2 separate regions of the Homo sapiens genome follow, and region 1 is linked to region 2. Evidence: promoter capture Hi-C in human tissues and cell types (Jung and others, 2019). All regions are on one chromosome and are shown on one strand. The core of a region is centred on a gene start or on the middle of the fragment in contact, and the rest is flanking DNA. Distances in the headings are between cores, read along the strand shown. Region 1 has its middle 18 kb from the start of OAF. Region 2 holds the start of USP2 (ubiquitin specific peptidase 2).

Region 1 (2,871 bases), core at 198-2,697, 810 kb before region 2:
CAGGGGTGGCGGTGGAGGAGGGGAGCAGGCCAGGAGGGCCACTGCTTCAGCCCTAGCACATGGTTAGCCATGTTGCACCCAGTGACATGTTGTACCCAGTGACGCCTTGCACCCAATGACATGTTGGTGAGGATTACAAAGGCCTGGCCCTCTTGCCTTAATGTGGGATATCTCTGCAGAGCCCCAGAGTCCCCATGGGGTTGGCAAAGGCCTTGGTTGCAACTTCACAGCCAACATCCAACGTCCAATGTTTCCCCCAACCCAAGCCTGTTCTCTCCACTTCCCCTACAGGGGTTCATCCCCACAGCATTCCAATAAATGATGCAAAGCTCTCAGAGTCTCTTTGCTAGGAACCTGACTTAATATGGGAGGAGAAGGGAGCTAACTTCAATGGGATGCTTCTTTTTTTTTTTTTTTTTAAAGAAAGATGGTCTCATCTAATACAACACATCTGTGAACTAAGCATTTTTGCTATGTTACTGTTCAGAAAATGTTAAAGAAGTTGTCAAGACCAAATGGTATCTGGCAAAGCTGGGATTCTAGTGCAGGCCCACTCTGACTTTGAGAGCACAGGTTCTACTCTCTCCCCACTGTATAAAAGGTGGGGAGTCCCTGACCCTGACCTGTGGGGTCTAGGGTGGAAAGGAGCTGGCTGGCCAAGGACTTGCCTGTGGTGTTCGAGTAGGCATGTAAACACCCATGAGAAGAGTGTTCACACCTGGGGTGCAAATGGGGGGAGGCAGGAAGCAGGGAAGGGTGGCCACATGTGGCAACCTTTGCTGGCCAAGGAGGCAGAGGTGCCTCTGGTGGAAGAAGACCTTGGGATCGGCCAGCAGCAGCCGTGAGGCACATCTGAACCCTCTCCCCGCACAGGCCCCATACAGTGGGGACTGCTGGCTCTGAGCCTCCCTGGGGCACACAAAGAAGGTTTACCTTTGCCCAAGCTGGTTGGCAAGACCCAGGTCCCATCCTGTCCCAGTGAAGGGTGAGGACTCTGGACTTCTCTGGCTCTGTGTGCTCCCTCTGGTCCCAACACAGCGGAGGACTGGCCCCTGCCTGCCTCTGGGGCCGCTCTGGTGGTAGTCAAGGTGAGTTCAAGGTCAGCAGCATGCTGCCACAGCCGCAAGCCGGCCTCGTAGCTCCTCCCTCAGGCCCCAGCCCTGGAGCACTCTGGAGCCGATCATGGGAGGAGGATCTTTCCTGAACTTTGTCTCTGGAGGGCCCAAGCCAGTTCTACCGTTGGTGTGTCCATTTGCAGAGGGGCGCCTGGTACCAGTCCTCCCCTGAGGGGCAATGCCCCCGGAACTACAGCTGGGGAAGGGCAGCAGGTCTGGAAACAAGCCAAGAGCACCCCGTCTGGTGCCGGTGGACTTTCTTGCATGAATTGGCAGCTCCGTCAAGCTTTGGCATCAATTCCAAAAGTGGAGCATTGGGGCTTGTCCTGTCACCTGGAGATTCTGAGCACATATTTACAGTTTACAGAAGTAGAAACAAAAGTAACCCTTTTATCTCCTCAGAGGAAGCTGGCCCTTCCACTGAGTACAGGAGCCGGAGACAATGTAACCTTCCCTGAGAAGATACTCTTTGGGGTAGGAGGCAGCTGTCTAGACGTGGCACCACCGAATGCACCCTAGCAAATCAGGAAAATCTCTTTTTCCTTTTTTTTCTTTTTTTCTGAGACAGAGTCTTGCTCTGTCGCCCAGGCTGGAATGCAGTGGCGCGATCTCGGCTAACTGCAAGCTCCACCTCCCGGGTTCACACCATTCTCCTGCCTCAGCCTCCGGAGTAGCTGGGACTATAGGCGCCCGCCACCACGTCCGGCTAATTTTTTTGCATTTTTAGTAGAGACGAGGTTTACACCGTGTTAGCCAGGATGGTCTCGATCTCCTGACCTCGTGATCCTCTCGTCTCGGCCTCCCAAAGTGCTGGGATTACAGGCATGAGCCACCGTGCCCGGCCATCTCTTTTTCCTTAAAATGCTCAACTGGTGTGTGCAGAACTCCCCCTTGCCTCAGCAACTGGGAGGAGTGCCTTGAAATGGCAGCGTGGGTCAGGAGCTGGGGCTCTGGGTCTAAGTGCCAGGTCGGCCATCTGCAGGAAGGAGCAGCAGCAAGATTCTCTACTGAGCTGGGCCCTGCTTTCCTCACCCGGTGGGGAATGTCTTTCAGCTGCGGGAGGTTATTTGTGACTGCCATCTTTTTCTCTTCTCTTCTTTTTTTTCAAAAAAAAAAAAAAAATCTTTGTGAGAAAAACCCCACCGTTCCACTTGTTTTCTCCGAGCCGTTTTGTTAGTTGAGGTGTTTGCATGCTGAGCAACACACACTAATATTTTCCTCCTCGTCAAAACATTAATTATCCCACCCAGGAACCTTTCTCTTGGATGTTTTTTCTTTACCACCCCTTAAGCTGTTGGGCACCAAGCGATTCCTGTATTTCCCATCATCTCAGCAAGCTGACTGTGATGTTTAAGGAGAGAGAGGCCCCCTTGGCTGGGTGCGGACCCTCCTTTGTGCTCTGTGGCACCCAGTAGTCAGGATGCAGTACTCAGGAGAGCTCCTGTCCCCCTGCTTCTCACTCTATGTGCGAACCATCTGTTTACATCTCTTGTCGTCTCCCACGAGGCTGTGAACGTCCTCATGTCTGTATTCCCGACACCCAGGACAGTGCCTGGCACAGAATAGTGGCCCTACAAATGTTTGCTGCACAAGCACATAAATGAATGAAAATGAAGATAGAATAATAAACACGCAGTAGGAGGAGTCAGGGTTCAAATCAGCCCCCCTGGTTGGGCCCCGCCCCCCAGCCTCCATCTCTTGCCTGTTCATAGAGGGAGCAGTTGTAAGCACAAGTTGGGTCCTTTGCTCTCCCTAG
Region 2 (3,176 bases), core at 322-2,821:
GCATCATCTAACATATTACATATTCTACTTATTTAGTCCTGCTTCTACTAGAATGTAAGCTCCCTGAGGGCAGGGATTGTGCCTGTTTTGTTCCCTGCTATATCCCCAGTTTCTAGAAGAGTGACTGGCATGTCCAATATCCATCTGTAAAATGAAGTGATGGAATGAGGGCCCTAAGGAAATATAACATGGTGAAACCCCATCTCTACTAAATACAAAAAATTAGCTGGGGCCGGGTGCAGTGGCTCACACCTGTAATCCCAGCACTTTGGGGGTCTGAGGCTGGTGGATCACCTGAGGTCAGGAGTTCAAGACCAGCCTGACCAACACGGTGAAACCCTGTCTCTACTAAAAATTCAAAAATTAGCCAGGCGTGGTGGTGGGCTCCTGTAATCCCAGCTACTCGGGGGAGGCTGAGGCACAAGAATCACTTGAACCCGGGAGGAGGAGGTTGCAGTGAGCCGAGATTATGCCATTGCACTCCAGCCTGGACAACAGAGCAAGACTCTATAAAAAAAAAATCGGCCTGGCGTGGTGGCGCACGCCTGTAATCCCAGCTACTTGGGAGGCTGAGGCAGAATTGCTTGAACCTGGAGGTTGCAGTGAGCTGAGATCGCGCCATTGCACTCCAGCCTTGGCAACAAGAGCGACGACACTCCGTCTCAAAAAAACAAAAAACAAAAACAAAAACAAAACAAGAGTTGAAATCAAGAAGGGAATCGTGCCTTGGACAAGAACAGGGGTGCCTCTTTCACTGCTCCTGATAAGAATGGATTCAGACATGTTTGTAGGTAGAAATTTAAGAATTCCCCTCTTGATTGCGTCTGATTTCTCTGGGAAATAGAAGAGAAGGAAGGACTTGAGGAGAGTAGCGATGGAGAGAGAGATCTATGGTGAAGATGGGAGGAGTTAACGGCAGCTGCAAGGGTTGATGGAGCAGCTGAAGTTGAAAACCTGGATTCGCCTTGGTACCCAGCTACCTGGTTGTGCGATTTTCCTCATCAACATCGGGGGAGTCGGGAGAAGGTTACATAAAAGGAATGGGAGCAGCAAAAATTCAAGTTTTGTCTCGGCTTTTTCTTGAAAAGACCAAAGAGAATTCTTTCATTGACTCAGTGCCTCCGTTTACCCACTCAGGCATTCATCACTAATCACTGGTCCCATGAAAGTAAAATGAGCGGAGAGTGTCTTTGACAGCAGAGAAAAAGAGAAGAGGCTGAGGAACAGGACCTCCCCCAGCCCAGTGAGAAGGGGAGTGGGGGACGTTTAGCCTTCCCTAAAAACTGAAAGTTGATACGCCCCAGGGCTCAAGTTCCGAGCCTTCTCCCATGACGCCTCTTCTTTCCCAATACCTTCCAGCTGCCCCGTCGTGTGACATTCCAGTCCACCTCTGTTCCTGCTCCACCCGCTCCAAACTCGCGTGCTTTTCCTCCACGTGGTTCTCTGTGTATATCGGTTGCCTGGGTGGCCCCAGCCGGAGGCCGGGCTCTAATGACGCCACAGTAGGAACAAGCCAATAGCCGTGACGCGACTCAGTGACGCGAGACGCGGGGTGTGGCTCTGCCGGCCCAGGCGCGATGAGGCGGCTGCCCGCTGGGTGGCGCCGATTTCCCGGGGAGGTCCCTTCTGGGCCCCCGGCGGAGGTGGGAGAGAGTCAGGCAGGAGCCGAGGCCGGGGAGCCCTCTTCGTCAGCTGGTGCTCACTGCGCCGCGCCAGCGCCAGCCGGGACTCACCCGCAGCTCCATGCTTGTGCCCGGTTCGACTCGTCCATACTCCAAGAAGAGGCAGGTACGTGCCACCTGTCGGGGATCCGGGAGGGGGGATTCGGGGATCAGTGCCGGTTTGGAGCTCAGAAAGTAAGGTGTCCACGACATTCTGGGCAGAGTGGACACTAGAAATATAGGGAGAGAGCCGGCTGTGCAGGGACGCTCCAGCTGTGTCTGCCAGTTGTGTGAGGGCTGCCTGCTGACAGCCCAGGGTGCCAGGAAGAGCCAACTGTGTGCTGATCAGTGTATTCTAAGGAAATGCTGCTTTGGCGGGTCCTCCTCGCTGTGCCCCGTGTATATCGGTGGTATGTGGCCTGAGCGACACTGACAAACCCCCTCCCCACGTGTGCGTGCAGCTCACTCGCTGCTCTTAAAGCTCCCCGGTCAGTTTGCTAAAGGGGGTTAGGGGCGGGGGTTGGGCAACAATTAAGCGGAAGGGGAGATTTTCCACCAATCCCAAACCAGAAAGAGGCAGCTTTGAAATTCTCACCAGTCCCAAACCAGAAGCAGGCACGCGGTGCTCCGGAGAGAGCAACTTCTCAACAGTCAAGGGAAGCCCTAGCCAACCCATTCTAGCCCTTCCCTGAAGAGTGAACATCCTACCTCCTGACCTGGCTGCCTTTAGAATGGGACTGAGCTGGAGGTAGTGGTAGGGGCTGCTCACCTCCCCTGGAATGGGCATGAGAACATCCCCCAGATGGACCCCCGTAAAGCAGAGGAAAGGAGAGCTGATTGGGCTAAGGTCGAGGCAGGCCCCCTCCTTTGATGCTGTAGATGCATGTCAGACTGGAGTCAGAATGAGGACTGGAATGAGGGCGTCCTCTGAAGTGCATCATTAGGACCTGGGCTGAGTCAGTAGCCTGTGCTAAGACAGGGTGGAGGCACCAGGCTGGGTACTCCCAGTCCTCGGGGAGAGCCATCGAGAAACGTCCTGGGAGCAGACAAGTGCACCAAGGCCAGAGAGGCTAAGAACCCCGTTCCTTCCTCTTGTGACCCTGCCCAGCCCGGCTCTGTGGCCCTGGAATCCTGAGCCCTCCCACAGGTAGAGTGGAACCACCCCAGAGGGGCCAAGCATTCTCCTGGTGGCCTGGGGGAAGCTGCACTTGCCGTATTTTTCTAGGCAAAGGGGGAAGGAGCCCAGATGGGCTTGGCCTTTCTCTGCTTGGTGGACTGGACGTCTAGGAAGATGGCAAGCCTTGTTTGCCCTTCCCAGTTATGGGACATGGTCAGTTCAGAAAACCAAGGGACTGTTCTCTGGCATTAGAAAGGCACACTTCCGGCCGGGAGCAGTGGCTCAAAGTGCAGTAATCCCAGCACTTTGGGAGGCCAAGGCGGGCGGATCACAAGGTCAGGAAATCGAGACCATCCTGGCTAACACGGTGAAACCCCATCTCTACTAAAATTACAAAA

The links. Contacts are between HindIII fragments. The study calls those that stand out against the background at their distance.
Region 1: a contact is called between a fragment that was not itself captured here and the fragment with the promoter of USP2 in region 2, in 1 of the 25 tissues and cell types used here (dorsolateral prefrontal cortex).

Annotation. Positions count from the first base shown.
Region 1 is chr11:120,191,510-120,194,380 of GRCh38, reverse strand. No RefSeq gene overlaps it. Among named protein-coding and RNA genes, the nearest start is that of OAF, 18 kb to the left of the region's middle. The HindIII fragment of the contact is 5,099 bases long and covers 1-2,871 here.
Region 2 is chr11:119,380,085-119,383,260 of GRCh38, reverse strand. It overlaps USP2 (ubiquitin specific peptidase 2), which reads left to right and starts at 1,571. Exons shown (of 13, transcript NM_004205.5): 1 at 1,571-1,788. It overlaps USP2-AS1 (USP2 antisense RNA 1), which reads right to left and starts at 1,483. Exons shown (of 4, transcript NR_034160.1): 1 at 1,353-1,483. RefSeq lists an enhancer at 1,504-2,493. The HindIII fragment of the contact is 18,363 bases long and covers 1-3,176 here.